3 separate regions of the Homo sapiens genome follow, and regions 1 and 2 are each linked to region 3. The links are contacts of gene promoters, found by promoter capture Hi-C in human tissues and cell types (Jung and others, 2019). All regions are on one chromosome and are shown on one strand. Each heading gives the region's core, a stretch centred on a gene start or on the middle of the fragment in contact. The rest is flanking DNA. Distances are from core to core; before and after follow the strand shown. Region 1 overlaps KCNIP4 (potassium voltage-gated channel interacting protein 4). Region 2 has its middle 50 kb from the start of KCNIP4. Region 3 holds the start of KCNIP4 (potassium voltage-gated channel interacting protein 4).

Region 1 (2,700 bases), core at 110-2,609, 42 kb before region 3:
TGTTGGTGTGGCACATATACACCATGGAATACTATGCAGCCATAAAAAATGATGAGTTCATGTCCTTTGTAGGGACATGGATGAAACTGGAAACCATCATTCTCAGCAAACTATCGCAAGGACAAAAAACCAAACACCGGATGTTCTCACTCATAGGCTATCACTTCCTTCGGGCTCTCCTTTCTTTCAAAAAGCCTTCTGCCAAATCTACCATGTGACCAGCATGTGTGCACATCTTCTGTGTACGCTTCAAAAGTGCAGGTGTCACAAATAAATGAGTTCACAATTTAGGATGCTGTTAGTAGATTCCTGACTTTCTCTGAAAGTTAGAAGTGTATTATAAAAACAAAACTTACATCTATATGTAAGTTGACTGCATCAGACTCACCCCATGGGCATTAGAGTGTGACATTAGTAGTGAGCCATCAGTAATGTCCCAATAGATCCCACTGACTTGCCACACGTAACACTTGTTTGCATAGACCACAGGACTGCAAACTTCAGCAGCCACTCACTCCCAGTCAAATCCAGGCCCTCATCTCTTTTCCAAATAAAGTGTTATTGAAACACAGCTACATTCATTTGTTTCATTCATCTATGAGTGTTTCAGGCTACAGTGGCAATGTTAAGTGGCAGAAACTATATGACCCACAAATCCTAAAATATTTACTACCTAGTTGTGGTAATGTGATAATGACTCCCAAAGTCATTGCTATGTTCTAACTTGTGAGTGTTACCTTATTTGGGAAGAGTCTTTGCAGGTGTAATAAATAAGTTAAGGATCCTGAGGTGAGATCATTCTGGTGTATCTGGGTAAGCCCCAAATTACAGCAAAAGTGTCCTTGTCTAAGACAGGTAGAGGGAGATTAGACACACTCAGAGGAGGAAAAGCGAACGTGAAGATAGAAGCAGAGATTGGCGTGATGTAGCCACAAGCCAAGGAATGTCAAGACATGTTGGCAGCCACCAGACTCTGGAAGAGGCAAGGAAGTGTTCTCCCCCACAGCCTGCCAGGGAGGATCCTGGCCCTTCAGAGCCCATGCTGGCACCTTGATTTTGGACTTTTGGCTTCCAGAACTGTGAGAGAATAAATTTCTGTCTGTTAGAAGCCACAAAGTTCAGGGTAATTTATTACAGTGGTCCCAGGACATTAATACTCTGGCCTTTTATAGAAAAAGTTTTCTGCAACAGGCAAAACCTGTACCAATTAATGCATGTATCTACTGCCCAACATAAGGAAGAAAATCTTTACACACCTATAAAAGCTATCTGCATACCCTGCCCTGATAACATCTAAATGTGATATTTACCAAGCCTGTGTACATCTTTTTACATACATCAATAAGGTATGCATCCAAAGCAAAACAGTATCATTTAGAATATGTTACATTTTACATAAAAGGTATATTTTTATGTAAGCTTCTAAAAGTTGCTTTTCTAGCTCACTATAATATTTTTAAGATTTATCCACTTTGATACACGAAGCTTTAGTTTCTCTCAATGTTTTAGTATATCACAATTCCTTTATTTACTCTCCTATGGATGGACACTAAAGTATTTCTCATTCTCATTATGATGAAGACTACTGCTATACTTTGAGTGTGTCCCCCACAATTCACGTGCTGGAAATGGGGTTCTTGGAGTGGCAATGTTGGCTGGTGGGTTGTTGAGAGGTGATTAGGGCATTAAGAGGAATTAATGTCACTCTTGAGGGACTGGGTTAATTCTCAGAGCAGTAAGTGAATGAGTTCTCGCTCTTGCAGGACTAACTCCGTTACTGAAAAGAGTGGGTTGCTATAAAGCAAGGCCGCCCCTCACACGTTGTCTCTTTCACACACACTAGCTTGGTCTTCCGCTTTTCCACCATGTTATGAGGCAGTACGAAAGCCTTCACCAGAAGCTGCCACCATGTTCTTGGACTTTCTAGCCTCCAGAACTACTAGCCAAAATAAACCTTTTTATTGCTACAAATTATCCAGCCTCAGGTATTCTGTTACAGAAACAGAAAACAGAGGAAGACAAGTACTATTATGTACTTTCTTATATACGTCTCTTATGCACAATTGTAAAAATAACTCCAGGATTTTTATTTAGAAATGAACTTTATGGGGAATGTGTCTCTTCAGCTTTATGATGTCAATTGCCTTTGAAACGAATTCAATAAATTACACTGCAATCAGTAGTGTTTCTGTGTTCCTGTTTCCCCAATCCTCACCAACCCTTGACATAAGCAGATTTTTAAATATTTTTTCCATGTGTATGAAGTAAGCATCTGCTCTTTAGAGTAAAGCTTGCCTTAGTACACAATAATAATGTTTTATAAATGTTAACTCCCCAACTTCATACTCACAGTGGAAATAAGGAAGCAAGTTTATGATAGAAAAAATACCAAAAATAATAACAAAAGAATTTTTAAAGACATAGTTTAAATTGTATCTGGTATACAGTTGAAGAATCGGCAAAAACACATTGGATTCACTGTGTGGGACTTTACGTCAACCATTTTAACTCTTGTGCAAACTTTTTTTGTTCATTAAATGGGAGGTTACTCTCTCTGTGGCCCCTTCCTGCTCCAAAAGTCTCTGCCTGTAATAAAAAATAATAAAAATAAATAGAATTCCAAGCAAAGTTCACAATTCTATCACTTTAATGCCTCTTTTCTTCAGAATATATGAACACTTGCACAAAAGAGTCATATAT
Region 2 (2,700 bases), core at 164-2,663, 50 kb after region 3:
AGCCTCCGCTACTGATACCCAGGCAAACAGGGTCTGGGGTGCACCTCCAACAAACTCTAAAAGACCTGCAGCTGAGGGTCCTGACTGTTAGAAGGAAAACTAACAAACAAAAAGGACATCCACACCAAAACCCCATCTGTACATCACCATCATCAAAGACCAAAGGTAGATAAAACCACAAAGATGGGGAAAAAACAGAGCAGAAAAGCTGAAAATTCTAAAAATCACAGCGCCTCTCCTCCTCCAAAGGAACGCAGCTCCTCACCACCAATGGAACAAAGCTGGATGGAGAATGACTTTGAGGAGTTGAGAGAAGAAGGCTTCAGACGATCAAACTTCTCTGAGCTAAAGGAGGAAGTTGGAACCCATCACAAAGAAGCTAAAAACCTTGAAAAAAGATTAGATGAATGGCTAACTAGAATAACCAATGTAGAGAAGTCCTTAAATGACCTGAAGGAGCTGAAAAACATGGCATGAGAACTACATGATGAATGCACAAGCTTCAGTAGCTGATTTGACCAACTGGAGGAAAGGGTATCAGTGATTGAAGATCAAATGAATGAAATGAAGCGAGAAGAGAAGTTTAGAGAAAAAAGAGTAAAAAGAAATGAACAAAGCCTCCAAGAAATATGGGACTAAGTGAAAAGACCAAATCTACATCTGATTGGTGTACCTGAAAGTGACAGGGAGAATGGAACCAAGTTGGAAAACACTCTGCAGGATATTATCCAGGAGAACTTCCCCAACCTAGCAAGGCAGGCCAACATTCAAATTCAGGAAATTCAGAGAACACCTCAAAGATACTCCTCGAGAAGAGCAACTCCAAGACACATAATTGTCAGATTCACTAAGGTTGAAATGAAGGAAAAAATATTAAGGGCAGCCAGAGAGAAAGGTCGGATTACCCACAAAGGGAAGCCCATCAGACTAACAGCGGATATCTCAGCAGAAACTCTACAAGCCAGAAGACAGTGAGGGCCAATATTCAACATTCTTAAAGGAAAGAATTTTCAACCAAGAATTTCATATCCAGCCAAACTAAGCTTCACAAGTGAAGGTGAAATAAAATCCTTTACAGAGAAGCAAATGCTGAGAGATTTTGTCACCACCAGGCCTGCCCTCAAAGAGCTCCTGAAGGAAGCACTAAACATGGAAAGGAACAACCGGTACTGGCCACTGCAAAAACATGCCAAATTGTAAAGACCATTGATGCTAGGAAGACATTGCATCAACTAACGAACAAAATAACCAGCTAACATCATAATGACAGGATCAAATTCACACATAACAATATTAACCTTAAATGTAAATGGGCTAAATGCTCCAATTAAAAGACACAGACTGGCAAATTGGATAAAGAGTCAAGACGCATCAGTGTGCTGTATTCAGGAGACCCATCTCACGTGCAGAGACACAAATAGGCTCAAAATAAAGGGATGGAGGAATATCAACCAAGACAATGGAAAACAAAAAAAGGTAGGGTTTGCAATCCTAGTCTCTGATGAAATAGATTTTAAACCAACAAAGATCAAAAGAGAAAAAGAAGGCTGCTACATAATGGTAAAAGTATCAATTCAACAAGAAGAGCTAACTATCCTAAATATATATGCACCCAATACAGGAGCTCCCAGATTCATAAAGCAAGTCCTTAGACACCTACAAAGAGACTTAGACTCCCACACAATAATGACGGGAGACTTTAACACCCCACTGTCAACATTAGACATATCAACAAGACAGAAAGTTAACAAGGATATCCAGGAATTTAACTCAGCTCTGCACCAAGTGGACCTAATAGACATCTACAGAACTCTCCACCCCAAGTCAACAGAATATACATTGTTCTCAGCACCACATCACACTAATTCCAAAATTGACCACATAGTTGGAAGTAAAGCACTCCTCACCAAATGCAAAAGAACAGAAATTATAACAAACTGTCTCTCAGACCACAGTGCAATCAAACTAGAACTCAGGATTAAGAAACGCACTCAAAACCGCTCAACTACATGGAAACTGAAAAACCTGCTCCTGAATGACTACTAAGTACATAATGAAATGAAGGCAGAAATAAAGATGTTCTTTGAAACCAATGACAACAAACACACAACATACCAGAATCGCTGGGACACATATAAAGCAGTGTGTAGAGGGAAATTTATAGCACTAAATGCCCACAAGAGAAAGCAGGGAAGATCTAAAATTGACACCCTAACATCACAATTAAAAGAACTAGAGAAGCAAGAGCAAACACATTCAAAAGCTAGCAGAAGGCAAGAAATAACTAAGATCAGAGCAGAACTGAAGGAGATAGAGACACAAAAAACCCTTCAAAAAAATCAGTGAATCCAGGAGCTGGTTTTTTGAAAGGATCAACAAAATTGATAGACTGCTAGCAAGACTAATAAAGAAGAAAAGAGAGGAGAATCAAATAGACGCAATAAAAAATGATAAAGGGGATATCACCACCGATCCCACAGAAATACAAACTACCATCAGAGAATACTACAAACACCTCTATGCAAATAAACTAGAAAATCTAGAAGCAATTCCTGGAACATACACCCTCCCAAGACTAAACCAAGAAGAAGTTGAATCCCTGAATAGCGCAATAACAGGCTATGAAATTGAGGCAATAATTAATAGCTTACCAACCAAAAAAAGTCCAGGACCAGACGGATTCATAGCCAAATTATACCA
Region 3 (2,700 bases), core at 10-2,509:
AGGGTGTCCATTTCCATTTCTCATGGCCATAAATTCGAATGATTGACTCAAGTTGTTGAGGTGACTCCATTTCCCTGAGTACTAAAGAAGGCAGCAAGTGGAAACACCTCTTTGCTTGCAAGTTTACAGCCCTCGAGTCCAAGTTTTTCACCCTCTAAACCCAAACTATGCTATAGCCATATGTGACCCCTTAGCTTATGTAATCAGGGAGAGGTCCAGCCCTTTATCACTCTCATGTGCCCCAAAATCACTTCCATTCTCTTTCCGGCTCCTGTAAAATACTCTGTACACATCAAAACCACCTAATAACAAATCGATGCAACCCAAGACGCTTTGTGGAAGGGCATCGTCTCCTATTTCTCTATGGATCCCACCAAACAGCAAAACATTTCTCCCTGCTTTCGCAGAACGCACGTTTCTCTGAAAGCCAAGCTCCTAACACAGTGCCCGATACCTTAACAAGGCTGTACTGTATATAAATTATTTGCAAGTGTCACTGAGGACCATTTTCTCTGAACACACTAAACTGAAGCTAGCCATAAAACAAGCCATACGCTCCTGCTTTAGAATCTGACATGGGCAAGATGCCGCCAGTATATTACCAGGGGACAAAAATACAGTTGTAATGAAGAAACGTGTGGGGGCATGAAGGAAAAGTGGAAGGCGAGGATCAATACTATTTCAGCTCATTAATCCCCAGGTGTTAGGGGAAGGAAGCGTGCGGTCTGGAGTCATCTGGCAGATGCATAAACAACCTCGGAAATTTTCAGAGAAGGCAAAAGTACGCACAGGATCGCAGGGGACCCTGCCACCGGCGAGTTTCAAACACACTTCAAACATCTTTTCTTCCCCGACCTGGATCTTGCATGCACCCCCCTCTCCTTTGCACCCCATTCCTGCCGCTCCCACCTCCCCTTCCCAGTCCCGCCAGGTGACTGTGTCTCATGCAGCGAAGGCAACAAGCGTCCCCAGCCGAGGAAGGGAAGGGGCAGCCGTCTTGGCTCGCGAGGGAAGGAGGGCGGAAGCGGGCGCCCGCTCGCAAGCTTATTGCATCCTACCGCCTGTAGAGCTGGCCTCCTCCAGCTGAGCCGAAATGCTTTCCACCCTCCTCACATTCATGTCTAGGGACGCAGGGTGCAGAAGCGAGACTCGAGAGTCCACCGGCCAGGGGCGTCTGTCCACGGGTCTGCACGGGAGCGCACCGCCGCTCGGCCCGGGGGCGTCCGTGGCGCTGGGAGCGAGAGCTTCGGCGGCGGCTGCGGGCAGGGCGCGCGGAGCGGGCTGCAGGTGCGGGCGGAGGCCGGCGGGGGGCGCCGGGGGCGCTGCGCGGCCCTTGGCGGCGGGGGCGCGCGGGGTGGCGGGGGAGGCCGAGGCGCCGGCAGCTTCGCGCCGGCGGCTGGAAGCGGGCGGGCTGCACGGGCGGCTCGAGTGCGGGGACCCCAGCCCCTCGCCCTCGTGAGCGCCGCCCCTGCCACCTGCTGCCAAGTCACCGGACTGGGGATGCGGGGGGCGGGGTGCGGGGAGAGGAAAGCGCCGCGGGTGGCACGGTGCCTCTGGCGACAGAGTAGATGGACCCGAAAGAGACCCGAGGTGACTTCGGGCTGGGCAGGACACCCCCGGGAGTTGCCAGCGGCTCTCAGCGGGCGCCTCTAGGACCCCTTGTCACTGCGAGCAGCGCCTGCTCTGGGGAGGGGCTCGAAGGCGCCGCGCCTTCTCAACGCGCCGCTGCGTCCCCCAGGGGCTCCAACTTGGACAGCTAGACTGGAAATACTGCTGCACAAAGTTAGGCTGAGTTCGAAGGACACCAGAGAGGAAGCGCAAGGAGATGCCCTTCTCCGGAGCCGGGCAGAGCGCCAGAACTCCTAGACGGGAAACTTTCCCCCATTGAAGCTAGAACCGGTCATGCGACTCGGCTAAGTGTGGGGAAACACTGGCTCTAGACTCCAGGTGAACATCGCAGGGCCGAGGTGCAGAATACCACCTTGGAGAGAGGGGGTGGCATAGACTGGTGGCATTTTGGAGAAGCATCCATGTGGGGGGTTTCATTTGAGATCTCCCAGGCAGGTCAACCAGGAGGTATCGCTCACCACCCGCAAGGTCATTTGCCCTTCTAAAGCACAGTAAGGCCGGGAATAGTTGGGAAGGTAAAGAGAAACCAATAGACCACTTGTGGCCATGGTTACTGTTTGAGAAGTCAAAATTAAAATGCAGATTTCTGTGTCCCCAAGAGTCAAGTGCATGAAGCCTCTCTTTTCAGAAGAAAGGTCAAGTTGACCCGTTCTCCAGGCAAACTGAATTAAAATTCCCTCTCACTCTCAGCTGCAAGGTCAGTTGGCCATGACTTGGGTGGAAGCCATTTCTAAGTGTTTGTGAAACTATTTGCCTTCCCTATGGCTGCTGGATTATTTATACACACTGTCACCAAGTGAAATCTTCCCCCTTTCTCCAAGTAGGTCTCAATTGACACCTTATTGCCCTTCTCCCCACCCCCAAACGCACGAGCGATTTACTTAGTCCTTTGAGCCCTTGTAGCATGTATTTGTATATTTCTTGAGAGCCTTTTACTCTTTTAGTTCATTGTTAAGGAGACAGATGCTGACACCCCATTGTCTGGGTTCAAATCCTAGTTCCACTACTTCATAATCCTGTGGCCTGGTACAAATATCAGCTATAACTGGTACCTACATTATTGTTTTGTTG

Evidence for each region. The method cuts DNA at HindIII sites, captures the fragments that hold promoters and counts their contacts. A contact is called where the count stands out against the background at its distance.
Region 1: a fragment that was not itself captured here is called in contact with the fragment with the promoter of KCNIP4 in region 3 in 3 of the 25 tissues and cell types used here (aorta, dorsolateral prefrontal cortex and mesendoderm cells).
Region 2: a contact is called between a fragment that was not itself captured here and the fragment with the promoter of KCNIP4 in region 3, in 4 of the 25 tissues and cell types used here (dorsolateral prefrontal cortex, liver, pancreas and 1 more).

Annotation. Positions count from the first base shown.
Region 1 is chr4:21,905,486-21,908,185 of GRCh38, forward strand. The region is part of intron 1 of KCNIP4 (potassium voltage-gated channel interacting protein 4); the gene reads right to left. Among named protein-coding and RNA genes, the nearest start is that of KCNIP4, 42 kb to the right of the region's middle. The HindIII fragment of the contact is 3,286 bases long and covers 1-2,700 here.
Region 2 is chr4:21,997,487-22,000,186 of GRCh38, forward strand. No RefSeq gene overlaps it. Among named protein-coding and RNA genes, the nearest start is that of KCNIP4, 50 kb to the left of the region's middle. The HindIII fragment of the contact is 4,171 bases long and covers 1-2,700 here.
Region 3 is chr4:21,947,513-21,950,212 of GRCh38, forward strand. It overlaps KCNIP4 (potassium voltage-gated channel interacting protein 4), which reads right to left and starts at 1,260. Exons shown (of 9, transcript NM_025221.6): 1 at 1,059-1,260. The coding sequence starts at 1,119. RefSeq lists enhancers at 1,207-1,707, 1,708-2,208. The HindIII fragment of the contact is 8,414 bases long and covers 1-2,700 here.